Linked DNA regions of Homo sapiens: regions 1, 2 and 4 are each linked to region 3. Evidence: promoter capture Hi-C in human tissues and cell types (Jung and others, 2019). All regions are on one chromosome and are shown on one strand. Each heading gives the region's core, a stretch centred on a gene start or on the middle of the fragment in contact. The rest is flanking DNA. Distances are from core to core; before and after follow the strand shown. Region 1 overlaps ATL3 (atlastin GTPase 3). Region 2 overlaps BAD (BCL2 associated agonist of cell death). Region 3 holds the start of NAA40 (N-alpha-acetyltransferase 40, NatD catalytic subunit). Region 4 overlaps PLAAT5 (phospholipase A and acyltransferase 5).

Region 1 (4,823 bases), core at 693-3,192, 290 kb before region 3:
AATGAGAAAGCTATCACTACTTTGAGATAATTCATCAGAAGATTATAGTCCCACTTACCTGTAAACGCTTATCCAAAAATGCCATTCCTCCTTGGAGTCCATAGCTATATTCATAAGGGAAACTCCAATCTCTAACCAAAAACATCAGTGTCTATTTAAGAAAAGAGCGGAACATATTTTAACATGCATAAACACATTTTCAAGAGAACAACTGCAATACATCTTTGCATAATGCCAGCTTCTACAAAGGGGGTAAAGTAGAAGGATTTACCTTTTTTTTTTTTTTTTTTTTTTAAAGAGATTGGGCCTTGCTCCGTCACTAAGGCTAGAGTGCAGTGGCATGATCATAGCTCACTGTAGCCTAGAATTCCTGGGCTCAAGTGATCCTTTCACCTCAGCCTCCCAAGTAGCCGGGACTACAAGCACATGCCACTACTCCTGGCTTATTTTTTAATTTTTTTATATAGACAAGGTCTTGCTCTGTTGCCCAGGCTGGTCTTGAACTCTAGGCCTCAAGCAATCCTGTGGCCTTGGCCTCCCAAAGTGCTGGGATTACAGGTGTGAGCCACCACACCCGGCCAGATTTATCTATTCTGTAATGTCTTAGAAGTTTTACAAACACTGGAGGGACATGTTTAAGCCAAATATGAGGTCAATATATCCTATCTGCTATTTTTGTTCCCACAGGTTAGTAGGAACAGAAGGAAGACATTAATGAGAAAATGGTAAATTTGGGACTCTGCCTTAAAGAAATCTATGGGGAATACAGTAAAGGACAAAAGAGAAAACCACATGGCACCAGCTAATCATAAAATCAGATCTGTGGCCGGGCACAGTGGCTCACGCCTGTATCCCAGCTACTTGGGAGGCTGAGGCAGGAGAATCACTTGAACCCAGGAGGAGGAGGTTGCAGTGAGGCGAGATCACGCCACTGCACTCCAGCCTGGGTGACAGAGCGAGACTCTGTCTCCAAAAAAGAAAAAAATCAGGTCTGTTTTCAGCATTAGAAAGGAAGGCCAGCCACCGTGGCTCATGCCTATAATCCCTTTACTCTGGGAGGCCGAAGCAGGTGGGTCACCTGAGCTCAGGAGTTTGAGACCAGCCGGTCAACATGATGAAACCCCATCTCTACAAAAAATACAAAAAATTAGCCGGGCGCCTGAAATCCCAGCTACTCAGGAGGGTGAGGAAGGAGAATTGCTTGAACCTGGGAGGCAGAGGTTGCAGTGAGCCAAGATCATGCTACTGCACTCCAGCCTGGGCAAAATTTTAGAAAGAAACTCCATCTCAAAAAAAAAAAATAAATTAGAAAAGAAAAGAAATAAGGCTTACACACTGAAAGCACCTCTAATCCCATTGACTGAGGCTGCTGTGCTTCCTCATTCTCAAGAAACACTGAACTGAGGCATAGGTCAGCAAAGACTTTTTGCAGAGAGAGAGAGAGAGAGAGAGACAGAGAGAGACAGAGAGTGAGTGAGTGTGTATGTGTGTGTTTGTGTTGAGACGGTCTTGCTTTGTTACCCAGGCTGGAGTGCAGTGGCACAATCATGGCTCACTGCAGCCTTGACCTCCTAGGCTTAAGTGATCCTCCTACCTCAACCCCACCGAGTAGCTGGGACTACAGGCGTGCACGACCTTTTTATTTTATTTTATTTTTGTTTTTTTCTTTTTTTTTGAGACAAAGTCTTGCTCTGTCGCCCAGGCTGGAGTATAGTGGCATGACCTCGGCTCACTGTAACCTTCACCTACCAGGCTCGAGCGACTCTCCTGCCTTAGCCTCCTGAGTAGCTAAGATTACAGGCACCCACCACCACGCCCAGCTGATTTTTGTATTTTTAGTAGAGACAGGTTCCATGTTGGCCAAGCTGGTCTCGAACTCTTGACCTCAGGTGATCTGCCTGCTTTGGCCTCCCAAAGTGCTGGGATTACAGGCATGAGCCACTGTACCTACCCCCATTTTTTTAAGAGATGTCTTGCTATGTTGCCCAGGCTGGTCTCAAACTCCTGGGCTCTAGCAATTCTTCCACCTGGGTCTCCCCAAAGTGCTGGGATTACAGGTGTAAGCTACCACGCCCAACCCACAGAGCTTACTTTTTAAGCGATTACTCTGCCGTTGTAGCAGGAAAGCCGTCACAGACAGTACAAAGACAAATGAGCATGGCTGTGTTACACTAAAATTTTACCTACAGACAATGACACTTGAATTTCAGGTAATTTACGTGTCATAAAATAGTACTGCTCATTTTTTTCAACCATTTAAAAATGTAAAAACCATTCTTAGCTCACAAGTCATATAAAAACAGGTGGCAAGCTAGATTTGGCCTATGAGCTGTAGTTTGCCAATCTGTGAAAACAAAAACAAAGGTATGAATTATATTTAAAATAAATATTCTAACCTGGAAAGGCTTTTGGAAAATTTCATCCATTGCCAGACGACCGTATTCTGTGAAGAGCTTTAAAAAAGAAGCATTATGGTTTGTAAAGCAAAATTACTTAAAATAGTTCTATGGCCTTTTTAGCAAAGTATTCATTATATTTATACTGATACCAGACTTCTACAGTTTCAAAAGCCCACAGGAGTCATGAACCTTAAAATCATCTTGGTTATTCCCTGCTCACATCCCACATCCCAATTCATCAACAAATCCAGAATCCAGCCACTCACTATTTCCATGTGGCTTGGAATACTGCAATAGCCTCCTAACTGCCTCAGCCCATGCCTCCCTATGGGCTATTCTCAACACAGCAGCCACATTGACTCTTTTATAATATGGTTAGTTAGATCATATAATGGCTTTGCTCAAAACCCCACAACCTCATTCAGTATTAAAGCCAGTCCTTACAGTGTGATGCAGCCACACTGGCCCTCCTTCCTGTTCTTCAAATACACGGGGCACACCGCTGCCTTAGGACCTTCGTACTGGCTCCTCCCACTAACTATAAGTTCTTCTCCCAAATTTCCTCATGATCTGCTCCCTCACTTCTTAAGGTCTTTCAAATAGCTCCTTCTCAGTGAAGACTTCCATGGCCATCTACCGAAAAAGATTACAAGTTTGCCAATAATATTTCCTACTTCGTGTCTTTAAAAAAAAATTTTTTTTTTTGAGACAGAGTTGTGCTCTTGTTGCCCAGGCTGGAGCGTAATGGCGCGTGGCTCATCGCAACCTCCGCCTCCCGGGTTCAAGCGATTCTCCTGCCTCAGCCTCCCAGGTAGCTGGGATTACAGGCATGTGCCACCACACCTGGCTAATTTTGTATTTTTAGTAGAGACGGGGTTTCTCCATGTTGGTCAGGCTGGTCTTGAACTCCTGACCTCAGGTGATCCACCTGCCTCGGCCTTCCAAAGTGCTGGGATTACAGGCGTGAGCCACCACACCCAGTCTTAAAAGTTTTTTTCTTAACATTTATCATTATCTAATATACTATACCTCTTCTTGATTTGATTTGCATCTGTCTTTATACTAGCATTTAAACTCCATGAGGGCAGGAATATTTGTCTGTTTTGTGCACTACTGGATTTCCAGCAGCAAGAAAAGTATTAGGCCCATAATATTTATGTCATTCAAATGACTGAATTCTTTAAGGTTAAGGTTTACATGTATATTTACCTCTAAATCTTCAGGAAGCCTCACTAAAAGCATAACAAAACAAACTTTAAAAGTAAATAAATAAACAGGACAAAGCAGCCAGCAGAAAAGCCCTGTCAAAAACATTCTGGATGGAAAATAGACAAATGAGAACTGTCTCAAGTTTTGGCTTTCTCTGTTCTGCTAAGAAATCTGGAAGAGACAGGGGCCAACAAGGAAGAAGCAAATTATCTCAGTAGAAATCCCTGAAATGCTCAGAAATTATAAGCATACAGTTACCTTACAGGAGGAGGTGTAGGAGTCCAGCTGACAACTAGGAAATATGTGAGTCTTAGGAGAAAGTACCTACACTTCCAGGCACCCCTCTCTAACTGCCGTATTTTTCCTGCCTCCATAGAAGATGGGAAGTGTACTATCTGGAGAAGATAAATCCAAAAAAAAATCTAGACTTAGATACCAAACTCAGCTGAGGTTAGGAGTAAGTCTCCTACCTTCAAACAGGTACTTAAATCAAAGTCCACATAGTGAGCAGTGGGACTCCTTAGCCCTCTCACCCTACTGGTTGCCACAGCAAGCTTCTACCCACCAAGGCAGGAATTTAAAGAAATTTTTTCCAGGGAAACTAACAACCCAAGAATAAATATCTGCAAAAAAAATAGACATTTAGGAGTTGGCAACAAAATAGCTAGATAACCTTGCCAAACCACCTACCTCATTGTGATCCAAACCAGTACACAAGGCCTATCCTCTTATCAAAGCTCCCAGTTGGATTGTTAGTGGCTCTCTCTTAAATAGGTAGTCAAGGACCACCAGCTAGACATTTGAGAAAAGCCTCTTAGCAGGGCTGGCCGCTCTAATCCCAGCACTTTGGGAGGCCAAGGCAGGGAGATCACTTGAGGTCAGGAGTTCGAGACCAGCCTGGCCAACATGGCGAAACCCTGTCTCTACTAAAAATACAAAAATTAGCTGGGCATGGTGGCACATGCCTGTAATCCCAGCTTCTCAGGAGGCTGAGGCAGGAGAATTGCTTGAGTCCGGGAGGTGGAGGTTGCAGTGAGCCGAGATCGCACCACTGCACTCCAGCCTAGGCAGCAGAGTGAGACTCTGTCTCTAAAAAAAAAAAGCAAAAAAACAAAAAGGCCAGGCACGGCGGCTCACATCTGTAATCCTGGCACTTTAGGAGGCTGAGGCAGGCAGATCATTTCAGGTTAGGAATTTGAGGTCACTCTGACCAAC
Region 2 (4,973 bases), core at 55-2,554, 340 kb after region 3:
AATGTTTTCTATAAAGGGGGTTCAGTGGGCCACGTGGTCTCTGTGACAACCACTCACCTTTGTGGCCAGAGCTGAAAGGAAACCATAATCAATGTGTAAATGAATACACTGCACCTTGCTGTGTTCCACTAACACTTTCTTTAGGGACCTTGAAATTTGAATTTCATAGAATGTTCACGTTACAAAATATAGTTCTTTGGATTTTTGTCCATAACTTAAAAATATAGGCCCAATGTGGTGGCTCATGCCTGTAATCCCAACACTTTGGGAGGCCAAGGCAAAAGGACTGCTTGAGGCCAGGAGTTCGAGACCAGCCTGAGCAACACAGAAAGACCCTTGTCTCTACAAAAATTAAAATAAAAAAATTAGCCAGGCATGGTGGCGTGCGCCTGTAGTCCCAGCTACTTAGGAAGCTGAGGTGGGAGGATGGCTGGAGCCCAGAAATTTGAGGCTTTATAAATATATAAAGCCAAGAATGTACATAAAGGCAAGAAAATCACTTGAACCTGGGAGGTAGAGGTTGCTGCGAGGCGAGATTGCACCACTGCACTCCAGCCTGGGCGACAGAGTGAGGCTCCATCTTGGAAAAAAAAATTATATATATATATTTATATATAAATATATATATACATAAATAATAACAATGGCAGTTCTAATAATAAGAGCCGCAAACACTTAGCCCCTCCTCTGCGCCAGGCACTGTTTCCAAGCACTTTTCCTATATTAACTCATCAGGTCCTCGCCACAGCCCTGCGAGGTGGGACTAGTTCTATTCCCGTTTACAGATGAGGAAACTCAGGCAGATGGAGTTAATTAACCTGCTCAAGCTCAACCTGCTAGGAAGGGTAGAGCCACGTTTGAACCCTGCAGTCTGGCCCAGGGGCTAGCACTGGGCTGCTTCTTTCTGCCTCTCCACTGTCCACACCTGTTTCAGACACTGGGCTGTGTGGGCTGTCACAGCACAAGGTGGCTGCAGTCCCTGCCCTGGGGACACCTCAGCCATCCAGCAGGGGGGCCTGGTGGCAGGGACTATGAGGAGTGACCGAACCAAGTGTGAGTTGCTCTGCGCAGGTAGAGAGGGCAGAGGCCCCGTGGCTCTGGCGGGGCACTGGCACTTGCTGATCTTTTCTGGGAAACCACTTGCTTTTGGAGACACTGAAAACTAAATCAAAAGGTTAAGAAATCCAGCTCTGTCCTCACCTGGCAGCTGTCTTCTCCCGCAGCCCTCTTTCCTACGGGTCTGCAGCTGGGGCTGGGGGGAGGTGTCGTCCCTGGCCTGTGCAGAATGTTACTCCTGTCCTCTGCCACTCCACCAGCACCCTGTCTCCTTTCTGTACCTTGCTACTCCTTCTACCATGATCTTGTCCCACTCTCCCCTCAGACTCATTCCCAGGGACATAACCTAGGCCTTGTCACCATCAAATAACTCCATCCCAAGCTTCCCACCAGCTGACCCAACCTGTGTGGATCATGCCCCCGGGACCCCAACTCCAACGATGCTGCGGCTTCCCAGGGCTTGCTCCCTTCCCTGAAGCTCAGCCAGCTTGGACCCCACATCTACCATTCCTTCCTTTGCACACACCTGAAGCCCCTACCCCTAACTGGACTGAGACAAGCACAACTCTGGTTCAGACTCCAAGTCCCTGCCAGCTCCCACTAGCACCCTGCTAAAAATCCCACCAGATGCTTAAAAGCCACCTCTAGCGGCCAGACGCGGTGGCTCATGCCTGTAATCCCAGCATTTTGGGAGGCTGAGGCGGGTGGATCACGAGGTCAGGAATTCGAGACCAGCCTGGCCAACATGGTGAAACCCCCGTCTCCACTAAAAACACAAAAATTAGCTGGGCATGGTGCATGCCTGTAATCCCAGCTACTGGGGAGGCTCAGGCAGGAGAATGGCATGAACCCAGGAGGTGGAAGTTGCAGTGAGCCGAGATCGTGCCACTGCACTCCAGCCTGGGTGACAGAGTAAGACTCTATCTCAAAAAAAAAAAAAAAAAAAAAATCCCCCTCTATCCCACCCTCTAGGGTAGCCTCCAGATCCTCCCTCACCCTTCAGTGTTTCTTCTCCATTAAAAGCAACTTCATCCTACCGGGTGCTCAAGCCAGATTCCTTGGTGTTGGCTGGGCACTGTGGCTCATGCCTGTAATCCCAGCACTTTGTGAGGCCAAGGTGGGAGGATCACTTGGGGCCAGGAGCTCAAGACCAGCCTGGCCAACATAGCAAGACCTTGTCTCTAAAATTAATAATAATTTGGCCAGGCGCGGTGGCTCACGCCTGTAATCCCAGCACTTTGGGAGGCCAAGGCGGGCGGATCACAAGGTCAGGAGATCGAGACCATCCTGGCTAACATGGTGAAACCCCATCTCTACTAAAAACACACAAAAAAATTAGCTGGGCATGGTGGCGGGAGGCTGTAGTCCGAGCTACTCTGGAGGCTGAGGCAGGAGAATGGCGTGAACCCGGGAGGCAGAGCTTGCAGTGAGCTGAGATGGTGCCACTGCACTCCAGCCTGGGCGACAGAGCAAGACTCCATGTCAAAAATAAAATAAAATAATAATAATAATAATAATAATAATTTTTTTTTTTGAGACGGAGTCTTGCTCTGTCGCCCAGGCTGGAGTGCAGTGGCACCATCTCGGCTCACTGCAAGCTCTGCCTCCCGGGTTCATGCCATTCTCCTGCCTCAGCCTCCCGAGTAGCTGGGACTATAGGCACCCACCACCACGCCCGGCTAATTTTTTGTATTTTTAGTAGAGACGGGGTTTCACCGTGTTAGCCAGGATGGTCTTGATCTCCTGACCTCGTGATCCGCCCGCCTCGGCCTCCCAAAGTGCTGGGATTACAGGCGTGAGCCACCGCGCCTGGCCTAATTTATTTTATTTTTATTTATTTTTTGTTTTTTGAGACGGACTCTTGCTCTGTCACCCAGGCTGGAGTGCAGTGGCAGGATTTCAGCTCACTGCGACCTCCACCTCCTGGGTTCAAGTGATTCTCCTGCCTCAGCCTCTCAGGTAGCTGGGATTACAGGCGCCCACCACCACATCCAGCTAATTTGTGTATTTGTAGTAGAGACAGGATTTCACCAAGTTGGCCAGGCTGTTCTTGAACTCCTGACCTCAAGTGATCTGCCTGCCTCAGCCTCCCGATGTGCTGGGATTACAGGTGTGAGCCACCACGCCCGGCCAATAATAATTTTTTTTTTGAGACGGAATCTTGCTCTGTCACCCAGGCTGGAGTGCAGTGGTGCAATCTCTGCTCACTGCAAGCTCCGCCTCCCGGGCTCACGCCATTCTCCTGCCTCAGCCTCCAGAGTAGCTGGGACTACAGGCGCCCACCACCACGCCCAGAGAATTTTTTGTATTTTTAGTGGAGACGGGGTTCACCGTGTTAGCCAGAATGGTCTCTATCTCCTGACCTCATGATCTGCCCACCTCGAACTACCAAAGTGCTGGGATTATAGGCGTGAGCCACCGCGCCCAGCCTAATAGTTTTTTTAAAATTCCTTGGCATCATCCTGACTCCTCTCTTTCCCTCGCACCCCACATCCAGTCCATCAGCAGATCCTGCCAGTTCTGCTTTAAAAATAAATCCAGGGATCAGCTACTTCTCACCACCTCCCTGGTGACTCTCTGAATGTCTAAATCTGACCATGCTGCCTCTGCTCAAATCCTTTCCAGGTTTTTACTCAAAGGCAATGCCAGAGTCCTTAGAATGACCTTCAACTTTAGGTCTCCAAATACCCTTTCCTAAACCCCCTCCCCTAGGCCCACCCTAGCCAGGAGCAGGTGTTGCCCTCGAGGCCTTACCATCTGCCCTTCTCTCTGCCTGGAACTCTCTTCCCATCATCCCTGTGGCCTTGGCTCCAGTGGTGCTTCTCACCAAGGTGAGTGCTGACCACCTCTGCTACCATCACTCCCCCCGCCCCTGTGACTCCGGATTCTCTTAACTCTTTTTTTTGAGATGAGTCTCACTCTGTCGCCAGGCTGGAGTGCAGTGGCACGATCTTGGCTCACTGCAACCTCCGCCTCCCGGGTTCAAGCGATTCTCCTGCCTCAGCCTCCCGAGTAGCTGGGACTATAGGTGCGCGCCACCATGCCCAGCTAATTTTTGTATTTTTGGTAGAGATGGGGTTTCACCATGTTGGCCAGGATGGTCTCCATCTCTTCACCTTGTGATACGCCCACCTAGGCCTCCCAAAGTGTTGGAATTACAGGCGTGAGCCACCGCGCCCGGCCTCTCTTAACTCTTTTACATGCTGCCCCCATACAAATCTTCTCACGCATGATAGGATGCTTTTGTGCTTGTTTGCTCATGGCCCCACCAGCTCACTAGAAGGTAAGCTCCACAAGGGCAAGGATTCCTGACGCTTGGGTTCACCGAGGCCCCCTAGCAACTGGAACAGCCTGTGTCACACGGTGAGCACTCACTGTGTGGCGCGAGTGAATGCTGAGTGTGTGTGGGGGGCAGAGAGCAGGGGAAGTTTGTGAGCAGAAAAATGGCCAAGTGCAAGCTCAGGAAGTTAAAGAAAGCTGTGGAGGCTGAGCATGGTGGCTCACGCCAGTAATCTCAACAGTCTGGGAGGCCAAGGTGAGAGGATTGCTTGGGCCCAGGAATTCGAGACAAGACTGGGCAACAAAGCAAGACCCCACCTCTACAAAAAATAAAAAATGAGCTGGTGTGGTGGCATGCACCTGTGGTCCCAGCTGTTCTGGAGGCTGAGGCAGGAGGATCGTTTGAGCCCAGGAGTTTGAGGCCTGCCTGGGCAACAAAAGGAGACCCCGCCCCTGCCCTCATCTCATGAAAATGTGAAAAATGCTGGGCATGGTGGCTCACGCCTGTAATCCCAACACTGTTGGGAGGCTGAGGCGGGTGGATTACGAGGTCAGGAAATGGAGACCACCCTGGCTAACACGGTGAAACCCCATCTCTAATAAAAATACAAGAAATTAGCCCGGCATGGTGACACGCG
Region 3 (5,096 bases), core at 1,759-4,258:
GCCCAGCCTGGACTGTCCTTCCTTTGACCTTGTCCCTACATTCTCATCTCAACCCAGAAGCCAGGGTGGTTCTAGGACCTCCTCTGCCTGCAATGCCCTTTCCCCAGACGTCCTCATTACTTGCTCCCTCACCTTCAGATCTTGACTCAAGTATCACCTCATGTTTGCCTTTCCTGAGCATCCTAGTTAAAACTATAAATCTCTCTCTTTTTTTTTTTTTTGAGATGGAGTTTCATTCTTGTTGCCCAGGCTGGAGTACGACGGTACAATCTTGGCTCACTGCAACCTTTGACTCCCCACTTCAAGTGATTCTCCTGCTTCAGCCTCCCGAGTAGCTGGGATTACAGGCATGTGCCACCACACCCAGCTAATTTTGTATTTTTAGTAGAGACAGGGTTTCTCCATGTTGGTCAGGCTAGTCTTGAACTCCTGACCTCAGGTAATCCTCCCGCCTTGGCCTCCCAAAGTGCTGGGATTACAGTCGTGAGCCACCGTGCCCGGCCTTTTTTATTTATTTTATTTTATTTTATTTTATTTTATTTTATTTTATTTTTCGAGACAGAGTCTCGCTCTGTTGCCCAGGCTGGAGTGCAGTGGCACGATCCTGGCTCACTGCAAGCTCCGCCTTCCGGTTCATGCCATTCTCCTGCCTCAGTCTCCCGAGTAGCTGGGACTACAGGCGCCTGCCACCATGCCCGGCTAATTTTTTTGTATTTTTAGTAGAGATGGGGTTTCATGGTGTTAGCCAGGATGGTCTCGATCTCCTGACCTCGTGATCTGCCTGCCTCGGCCTCCCAAAGTGCTGGGATTACAGGTGTGAGCCACTGCGCCAAGCTTTTATTTATTTTATTTTTTTTTGAGACCGAGTCTGGCTCTGTTACCCAGGCTGGAGTTCAGTGGCGCTATCGGCTCACTGCAACCTTCACCTCCCGGGCTCAAGCAATCCTCTAACCTCAGCCTCCAGAGTAGCTGGGACCACAAGTACACGCCACCACGCCTGGCTAATTTTTTTTTATTTTTAAATTTTTTTGCAGAGACAGGATCTTACTCTGTTGCCCAGGCTGGTCTCAAAGTCGTGAGCTCAAGCAGTCCGCCCATCTCAGCCTCCTAAAGTGTTGGGATTACAGGTGTGAGGCACTGCGCCAGGCCACAACTATAAATCTTGACCTTCCCTGTGCTCTCTCCCTGCTTTTTCTTCCTTCTAGAGCCTGTATCATTTTTTTTTTTTTTTGAGACTCTCTCTGTCGCCCAGGCTGGAGTGCAGTGGCACAATCTCGGCTCACTGCAAGCTCCGCCTCCCGGGTTCACGCCATTCTCCTGCCTCAGCCTCCCGAGTAGCTGGGACTACAGGTGCCCGCCACCCTGCCCGGCTAATTTTTTGTATTTTTTTAGTAGAGACGGGGTTTCGCTGTGTTAGCCAGGATGGTCTCGATCTCCTGACCTCGTGATCCGCCCGCCTCTACCTCCCAAAGTGCTGGGATTACAGGCGTGAGCCACCGCGCCCGGCCGAGCCTGTATCATTTAACTAACTATGTATATTACCTATTTATTTCATCTATTATCGGTCTCCTCCTTCTAGGATACAAGGGTGGTGCCTATTCTGTTTCTTATTGTTGTTTTCCTTGCTGCTTGGAACAGTGCCTAGCATACAGTAGGCACTGGATAAATGTTGTTGAGGCCACCACTGTACTGAGCACTAAAGTTGGAATAATGAGGCTAAGCACAGTGGCTGACGCCTGTAATCCTAGCACTTTGGGAGGCCAAAGTGGGAGGATCGCTTGGGCCCAGGAGTTTGGGACCAGTCTGTGTAACACAGTGAGACCCCATCTCAACAAAAAATAAATAAAAATTGAGCTGCGTATGGTAGTGCACACCTGTAGTCCCAGCTACTCAGGAGGCTGAGGCGGGAGGATCGCTTGAGCCCAGGAGGTCGAGGCTGCAGTGAGCTGTGATTGCACCACTGCACTCCAGCCTGGGCGACCGCGAGACCCTGTCTCTTAAAAAAACAAAAAGATGGAATAATGAGCAAAACCTGAAAAAGTCCATGAAGCTTAAGTGTTGGGCAGCATTTCACTAATTTTCGTCTTGAAGCATTTCACTAATTTTCGCTCCCTACCTGGGGAGCACTAGGAAGTGAAGACTCTGGCTCCACCCCTGGAGATTCTGGGGGAGGTTGGCAGAGGTGTGCACACTGCGGAAGCGCCCCCGGCGGTTTGGATTCGGGTCACGTGCGGGTCACTCCGGTGTGCTGGGGATGGGTTGAAATTAAAACTTTCCGGGATGCCTGGTGTTCACGCTAACAGCACTGTCCACTCTCTCCTAAACAGTGCTTACGTGCCCGTCTCCCCTCTAAACCCTGAGGTGTGGCGCTGAGATGGCACCTCGCTCCTCTCTGTGCCCCCTGGGCTCAGCACCGCGTAGATGCGAGTTAATTTTTATTGAGAACGTGAATGAATGAGGGGGAATGAATGGTTAGAAGACGAATGAATGAGTAACAGGACTCTGGTTAGAAAAGGAATTTCAAGAGTCAAGATCTGGAAGGTGGGAAAGTTTCCAAAGACTTCCGCTACGCGCGCTAGGGCTCTGGAGGGGCAGGTACTTTAGAGGTCGAGACGCGATTGGCCGCCTGGGAAGGTGGCTGTGCCGCCGGCTGCTACGCGCGGGGCCAAGGAGTCGCTGGCCGCAGGGGAGGTGCTGCCAACCACCCGGCCCCCAGCGGCGCGCGACTCACGGCCTGGGTGAGCAGCCAGGCCTGGCGCCGCCGTTGCCATAGTTACAGACGCAGCCCTGCGAGGGGGCGGGCTCTGGCCGCACGTCATTCCCGGCGCGACGCTCCTCCGCGCTCCCGCCTCCTCCTGGTCGGAGACCCTCGGCCAGCCTAGCGGGCGCTCCACCTGCGCGCCGGCTCACCGCTGCCCTGCGCCGGTTCTGCGCCGGCGCGGTACGAGGGCGCGCGGTTGGGCGGGGGGGGGGGGGGAAGCTGCGAGGCGCATGCGCGTTGCAGGGCCGTCCGCTCTGCTGCCGCCGCTGTTGCAGCCACCGCCGTTGCCGCCTCCCTGCCGGCAAGTGTGTGAAGAAGAAGCTGAGCGTTGTCGCCGCCGCTATGGGGGTGAGTGAGGCAGAGAGAGGAGATGGGAGGTCCAGGGGCGCTCCTCGCTACCCTCGCCCCCTTTGTTCTTAAACCCCCCTCTCACGTGACCCCGACCCCCTCCAGCCTCACGTGACCCCTGACCCCCACATGACCCGACTCCCCCATTCTAAGGGTCCCTACGCTAGGCCTAGCCCGGGAATCCTCTGGAGAGCCCCTGGTCCGGGGCCCCACCCCCTCGGCGCCCCCAGCGTCACGCCCGCCCCTTCCTGCTTCGCGGACCCGTTACTGGCCTCCCCACCACCGTCCCCCGCGGGGACCCTGGGGTTAGCTTCCCGCTCCCCCAGGGTCACTCATCACCTGGCTGTCACCAGCTTCGTCGCTTTTCACATCCGAGGTCAACCCTGGCTTGGAGGGAATTGAGGCCCAGAGGAAAGAAGGCGCCTAGCCAAGGTCATATTGTCGGGGGCGTCAGACCCCACCTTGGGCCTCCCGAATCCCAGTCCACTGCCCTTCCCGTTACTCGAGTCTCAGCGAAGCCGGTTCCCCTACACTCTTTCGAAACCTCTCCACCAGGTTCCTGCTGCTCCTGATAAACACAGCCTTCCTTTCCCATAGACTCCTGCCTTCGACGCCTCCTGGTTGCAATGAAATGGTTCTTACGACCGCTTGGGTTGTTAGGGGTTTTGGTAGTGCAGGTGTTTTTTGCAAGGGGAGGGCTGTGCAGGTGTGCGGGGAAGATGCGGGGAGGCGGGGGCGGCGGCCCAGCCGCGGATGGATATTGACCACTTGTTCCGTGCCGGCAGCCTGGAGGTGCATTTTAGTTTACTTTCCCGGGATATAGGGTAGGGCAGAAGTTATTTGCAAGTTTCTGTGCGTTCACCTTACTAAGTCTCAATTACAGCAGTATCAGTCACCCTCCTAAAAAGATAACGCTTTTCCTAGTATTGGCTGTATTCTTTTTTTTTTTTTTTTTTTTTTTTTTTGATATGGAGTTTTGCTCTTGTCGCCGAAGCTGGAGTGCAATGGCGCGATCTCGGCTCACTGCATCCTCCTTCTTCTGGGTTCAAGCGGTTCTCCTGCCTCAGCCTCCCCAGCAGCTGGGATTACAGGCGCCCGCTACTATGCCCGGCTCATTTTTGTATTTTTAGTAGAGACAGGGTTTCACCACGTTGGCCAGGCTGGTCTCGAACTCCTGACCTCGTGATTCACCCGCCTAGGCCTCCCAAAGTGCTGGGATTACAGGCGTGAGCCACCACACAGGCCTATATTAGTATTTACATGGAATTTCCATCACCTTAAGGGAACCCTGACTTTGGAGCCCGAGGTACCTCACTTCCAGCCCCGTCTTCGCTGCTGGTGGTATAATAGTGTGCCAGTGAGTTGGCCTTTATGTGTTTGAATTTCCTCACCTCTGTAATTGGGATGCTAATACCTCCCCCTTAGGGTAGTAGTGAAGATTAAGTGAGATAATGGATGTAGATTGCTAAGGAGGTGTCTCCTAAGTAGTGGCTGTTATTTTTGTCTGTATCCTCAGCCTTAACTTTACTGATCTAAAATGGATTTGTGCTATTTTTAACCCATTGGGTTTGTCCCTACTGTTGTTAACCTAGTTTTTTTTTTTCCCGTCACTCCACTATTTATCGACTGAACAAATCAACTTATTAGACAAAAATAGTTGTCTAATCCGTGTCAAAACAGTCATCGTGTTTTAACAAATAGTTTTGGGTATTACGTACTTCATATGTAGAAAACCAAGTCTAGAGACCTTAGGCATATTTAACCTAAATTTTGGTGAAAGGTCCTAGACACAGCCATTGTTGAAACTAAATGAAACCTGTGTCCCTTAGTAACTGTCTAACCAGAAGCAGCCACTGCGGATTAAGCAGAAAACAAGAAGTGTAACATGCCGTTCTAGTTCAACACTTCCTCGTTGGTTGGACTGAAATAGCAGGCCCTCAACACCATAAGACAGGGTGAAGGAAAAAAGAAATATGCCCCAGAGATT
Region 4 (5,104 bases), core at 1,144-3,643, 460 kb before region 3:
ATATTAACTACATTTTACCATTTCTGGTACTCTCCATTTCTTCCTGTTGATTAAGATACTTACTGTCTGGTGTCATTGATCTAATACAGCTTCATTTCAGTCCCTCTCCTTTGTGCTATTACTATTATATTTATTATATATTTGCATGTTATAAGACCAAGAATAGGATTTATAACTAGTTTTATTCAATTACCTTTCAAATTGGTCAGCATAAATGATAAAATATATATTTAGATTCTTCTGTATAATTACCTTTACTGGTGCTTTGTATTTCATGTGGCTTAGAATGCTATCTGGTGTGACTTTCTTTCCACCCAAAGAATTTTCTTTGCTATTTATTTTAAGGCAAGTGTGCTAGCCACAAATTCTCTCATTCTCCATTCATCTGGGACTATCTTTATTTCACCTTCATTTTTGCAAGATACATTACTGGATACAAAATTATTGGTTAACAGGTTTTTTTCTTTCAGCATTTTTAATATGTCATCCCACTGCCTTCTGGTCTCCATTGTTTCTGATGAAAAGTTGACTATTGTTTTTTATTGTGCATCTCTTGTATACAATAAGTCTTTTTTTCTCTTGCTGTTTTCAAGATTCTCTCTTTGTGTTTGGCTTTCATCTGTTTGAATGATATGTCTGGGTATTCACAGAGCTTCTTGGGTGTATAGATTAATGTTTTACATCAAATTTGGAAAGTATTCAGTTATCTTTTATATAGGTATTTTTTTCTGCCTTTTTATCATCTCTCTTTCTGGGACCCCAATTATACATTTGTTGGTTTGCTCAATGGTGTCTCCTTGGCCTCTGAGGCTCTGTTCATTTTTCTTTTTCTTTTTCCTCCTACTCTTCATACTAGGTAGTTGCTGTTGATCCATCTTTGAGTTTGCTGATTCTTTTTTCTTTTTGGTAACTCAAATTTGCTGTTAAATCACTCTAGTGAATGTTTTATTTTGGCCATTGTGTTTTTCAACCCCAGTATTTTCATTTGGTGCTTCTTTATCATTTCTACCTCCTTATTAATATTGTATATTTGATCGGTCATTGTCATTCCACTTTCCTTTAATTCTTTAAACTTGATTTTATTTACTTCTTTAAATATACTCAAAATAGCAGTTTAGAAGTATTTGCTACATGCAACATGTAGGCCCACTAGGAAACAGTCTCTACTGTTTTTGTGTGTATGGGTCCCTCTTTCCTGTTTCTTTGCAGGTCTCATAATTTGTTGTTGAAAAACTGGACGTTCTAGGTAACATACCGTAGCAACTGTGGGCTCTGATCTCCTTCCCCACCCAACCAGGGCGGACGGTTGTTGCTGTTTGCTTGTTTGTTTGTTGTTTGTTTAGTGACCCACCTGGACTGATTCTGTGATGTCTGTTTGTCTCACAGCATGTAACCACTGAGATATCTGCTTAGAGTTTTTTTCTTGTTTTTATTTTTATTTATTTTTTTGAGACAGAGTCTCGCCGTGTCGCCCAGGCTGGAGTGCAATGGTGTGATCTCGGCCCACTGCAACCTCCGCCTTCCAGGTTCAAACGATTCTCCTGCCTCAGCCTCCTGAGTAGCTGAGATTACAGGTGCCTGCCACCATGCACAGCTAATTTTTGTATTTTAGTAGAGACAGGGTTTCACCATGTTGGCGAGGCTGGTCTCGAACTCCTGACCTCATGATCCGCCCACATCAGCCTCCCAAAGTGCTGGGATTACAGGCGTGAGCCACAGTGCCCGGCTTCTTGTTTTTAAGCCTGGCTTCCTAGATCGGCATAGCTTAATGGCCAGAAGTTGAGCCACACCTTGTGCCGCGAAGGCTTTACCTTTTGTCAGTGGATCTCTGTGTGGCTTGGAGAATTCATTCAAAGTTCCAGATTTTTATGAGTCTCCAGTCTGTCCTGAATGTGAATGTGTATGCAGCCTTGTGCATACCTTCTAGACCACCAGACACATGTGGCAGCTTTTCAAGACCCTCTTTAGTTGTATCATTACCTGGATTTCCATGTTAAATTTTTGGCAGGCCTGTTGGCCTATTGCTTGTCCTAACCAGTACTGCAACCTCAAGCTAGCTGCAATTTTGGTCTTCCATGATTGTCACTGAGATAACTCTTGTTTTCAACAACCCTGGGCATGGAAGTAAAGTCAGTCACCCTCTGCTGCCACGCCATTCCCTCCCACAAGCCCCACCCACCTGGATAGAACTTCCTTACCACAACCGCAGAGCTGGAGGTGAAGGGGCAATGCTAAAACACTACAGACTTCCACTGTTCTTTCTGAGAACCAATAGACTTTCTTTTTTTTTTTTTTAGACGGAGTCTTGCTCTGTTACCCAGGCTGGAGTGCAGTGGCGCGATCTCAGCTCACTGCAACCTCCGCCTCCCTGGTTTCAAGGGATTCTCCTGCCTCAGCCACCCGAGTAGCTGGGACTACAGGCTCGCGCCACCACGCCCTGCTGATTTTTTGTATTTTTAGTAGAGACGGGGTTTTACCGTGTTAGCCAGGATGGTCTCAATCTCCTGACCTGCCCGCCTTGGCCTCCCAAAGTGCTGGGATTACAGGCGTGAGCCCACGCCCGACCACGGATGGACTTTCTTAAATTAACCCTTCTCAATCTGTTGTATGGCTTTGGTCAAATTTCCAGTCTTTAAATGACTGTCTTTGGCAATTTTGTCTGGCTTCATAATTGTTTTGGGAAAAGAGGATTTGCTGAGATCTGCACTCAGCCATTCCACAAGTCCTGCCCACTTGCAGCAATGAGTTTTTGTGGGCACAAAGCAAACAGTATACACTACAATATTTCATGGAAGGAACTGAGGCCAAGAGAGAGGAAGTGCTTTGTCTAAAGTCCCACAGCAAGTCCATGGTCGAGCTAGGACCAGAACTACTCCCTTGCCCCTGCCAACAAACCAACTCTTTCTTCTGCCTTAAAGGGAAAATGTAATGGCAGCCACATATCCACTAGAGGGCTCCCCATACCAGGCTTCTCACCCAGAAAGCAGAATGATATTGCAGGAGACTTCAAACTGGACTTCATTTTCTTTTGCCATAAGCCCAGGGAAAGCAGTAGGGATATCCCCCACCATAAATCCCGGAAGCCGGTAGTATACAGAAGAGGTTGAGTGCTACGAGTTGGGAAGACAGCATGTGAGTGATGTAGATGGATACAGAGGAGCAGAAAGCAGCCAAGAGAGTAAGTGAAGAAAGGCAAAGTGGAGGAGAGCTCTTTCTCGTCCTTTGAAGAAGACTAAAAAGGAACAATAGCAAATAGTATTTTCTTTGTGATTCAGATAGTAATAAGACTATATTGCTTTAAGCAGATGCCTCTGTCTTCATAAATGGCAAAGGATCAGAGAAACTGTTTTAAAATGTTCATAAGAAAGTCTGAAGTTTAAATATTTTGAAGCTCATTTTAAAAAATCAAGTCAGGTTCAACATTTGCATGTGCAGATGCAGGTAAACAGTTAAATTGCCTTTAATTTATAATTTAGGTATATACAGATTTTTGATTCATAGATTGTCTAATTATTTTTTCCTTTCAGACATAGGTAAATGAGAGAGGAAGAGAAGTTATTTAGCCTAATTTCTTTATATGAACATATGTGCTAAGCTGAGGCCATTTCTGCTATTATACACACATGACACAGGAGACCCCATAGGCCCATCCTCACTGTTACAGTAATCTAAGGACCATTACTATCTAAGTCCTGACACTGGTCAGGAAGAAAAACAGAAATGCCCATGGACAAAAGATGAACAAGAAGTGAAGAACAGGCGCCAGAGCTCAAATCAATCCAACTCAGGCTATTATTTCTGGCATTGATCAGGGTGAAGGAAATGGCAGTAACAGTAAGATTATGGGACAGGTTTTTCTGAGTCACTCCAGAGGGAAAGCCACTTGACACGTTATGTTACTCTTGAACTAACCCCTGATTCCATCTCACTCTACCTGACCACAGACCCCAATACCTTAGAGTCCTAACCAATGCCTTTCACCCACCATCCACCATATCTAGTGGAGGGCAGGGCTCTCAGAGTCGGCCAAGCCAGCTGGACGGTCACGTCTGTTCTTTGTAGGAACATGCGGTCCGTTCTTCACCATCCCTCCACCTTGGACATATTTCCCCACCAACCAAATAGCCAGTTACTTCCCACTCAACATGGCTAGGTCATTCCCTATGACAACAAACAAGCAATCAATCAAATCCTTGTTGTTGTTTCCTGGAAAACTGACAGCAAGAAGATAACCCAATTCATTGTGAGGCCAATCTAAGCCAGAAGAAAGCTCAGAAAACCCAAGTTCTGTTCATCAAGGATGTCGAACAAGCTTTGTGGTACAGAAAACAGAAGGCTCAGGGATTGGAGAAGGAAAGAGGAGGGAATTTTGGAATTTTAAGTATTTTCTTTTGCATTTTAATACTCTCTCATCTGCAATATTGCCACTGGATGAGGTAGTAAGGTATAAAACTAAATGGGATTCACAGAGACTTAACAGTTATCCACTCTCTTGTTAAATTTCCTCCCACTGTAAATCGATTATATTGAGTATTGATTCTCAGCCTTGGTTACAAATTGAAATCGCCTGTGGAGCTTTAAAAAGTTCAGATTGGTCTGGAGTATAGCCTGGGTGCCAGAGTTTTAAAAGCTCCTTAGGTGAGTTTAAGGTGCAGCCAAGGTTGCGGTTATACTGGGGTCTTTTCTACAGTCCCATCCTTCCCTTTTTCTTTTCTTTAACATCTCTCCAGCATTTCATGAAGTTCTGCTAACTTCATGAGCCACAGAGTAGCTGTCTGTATGCTACAGAGCCGCCTCCAATCCCAGTTGATGCTGGTACCTTCAATTCTAGGTGAAGATTTTGCTGCCCTGTTTGCCTTTGTGTGATTGGATTAATTCGAAAGCCTTGTCTTCAAGCTCTTTCTTTTATTAATACTTGTTCAGTTCTATTTCCCATGCATTTTGTATATCTCTAAGTGTGTCTTTCATTTCCATAAGTTGTGCTTTTAATTTATAATTTCTATTTTTCTGGAGCATTTTTCATCCATATGCTGTATTGTCTTAAAAAATTGCTTTAACTTGGTTTTCACCTTTCTCTGGTATCTCCTTGAATAGCTTAATAATC

What was found. Contacts are between HindIII fragments. The study calls those that stand out against the background at their distance.
Region 1: a contact is called between a fragment that was not itself captured here and the fragment with the promoter of NAA40 in region 3, in 1 of the 25 tissues and cell types used here (hippocampus).
Region 2: a contact is called between a fragment that was not itself captured here and the fragment with the promoter of NAA40 in region 3, in 1 of the 25 tissues and cell types used here (spleen).
Region 4: a contact is called between a fragment that was not itself captured here and the fragment with the promoter of NAA40 in region 3, in 1 of the 25 tissues and cell types used here (hippocampus).

The regions. Positions count from the first base shown.
Region 1 is chr11:63,644,111-63,648,933 of GRCh38, forward strand. ATL3 (atlastin GTPase 3) reads right to left here. Exons shown (of 13, transcript NM_015459.5): 6 at 2,397-2,453; 7 at 59-151. All of the region lies in intron 2 of LNCROPM (lncRNA regulator of PLAAT3 mediated phospholipid metabolism), which reads left to right. Among named protein-coding and RNA genes, the nearest start is that of ATL3, 25 kb to the right of the region's middle. The HindIII fragment of the contact is 5,374 bases long and covers 1-4,629 here.
Region 2 is chr11:64,277,780-64,282,752 of GRCh38, forward strand. The region is part of intron 2 of BAD (BCL2 associated agonist of cell death); the gene reads right to left. It also overlaps a transcript of GPR137 not described here. Among named protein-coding and RNA genes, the nearest start is that of BAD, 4.4 kb to the right of the region's middle. RefSeq lists an enhancer at 830-1,331. The HindIII fragment of the contact is 6,252 bases long and covers 1-4,430 here.
Region 3 is chr11:63,935,994-63,941,089 of GRCh38, forward strand. It overlaps NAA40 (N-alpha-acetyltransferase 40, NatD catalytic subunit), which reads left to right and starts at 3,009. Exons shown (of 8, transcript NM_024771.4): 1 at 3,009-3,109. The coding sequence starts at 3,104. RefSeq lists enhancers at 2,012-2,512, 2,751-2,890 and silencers at 2,611-2,660, 2,921-3,000, 2,930-3,115. The HindIII fragment of the contact is 10,658 bases long and covers 1,443-5,096 here.
Region 4 is chr11:63,476,045-63,481,148 of GRCh38, forward strand. The region is part of intron 3 of PLAAT5 (phospholipase A and acyltransferase 5); the gene reads right to left. Among named protein-coding and RNA genes, the nearest start is that of PLAAT5, 13 kb to the right of the region's middle. The HindIII fragment of the contact is 5,998 bases long and covers 1-5,104 here.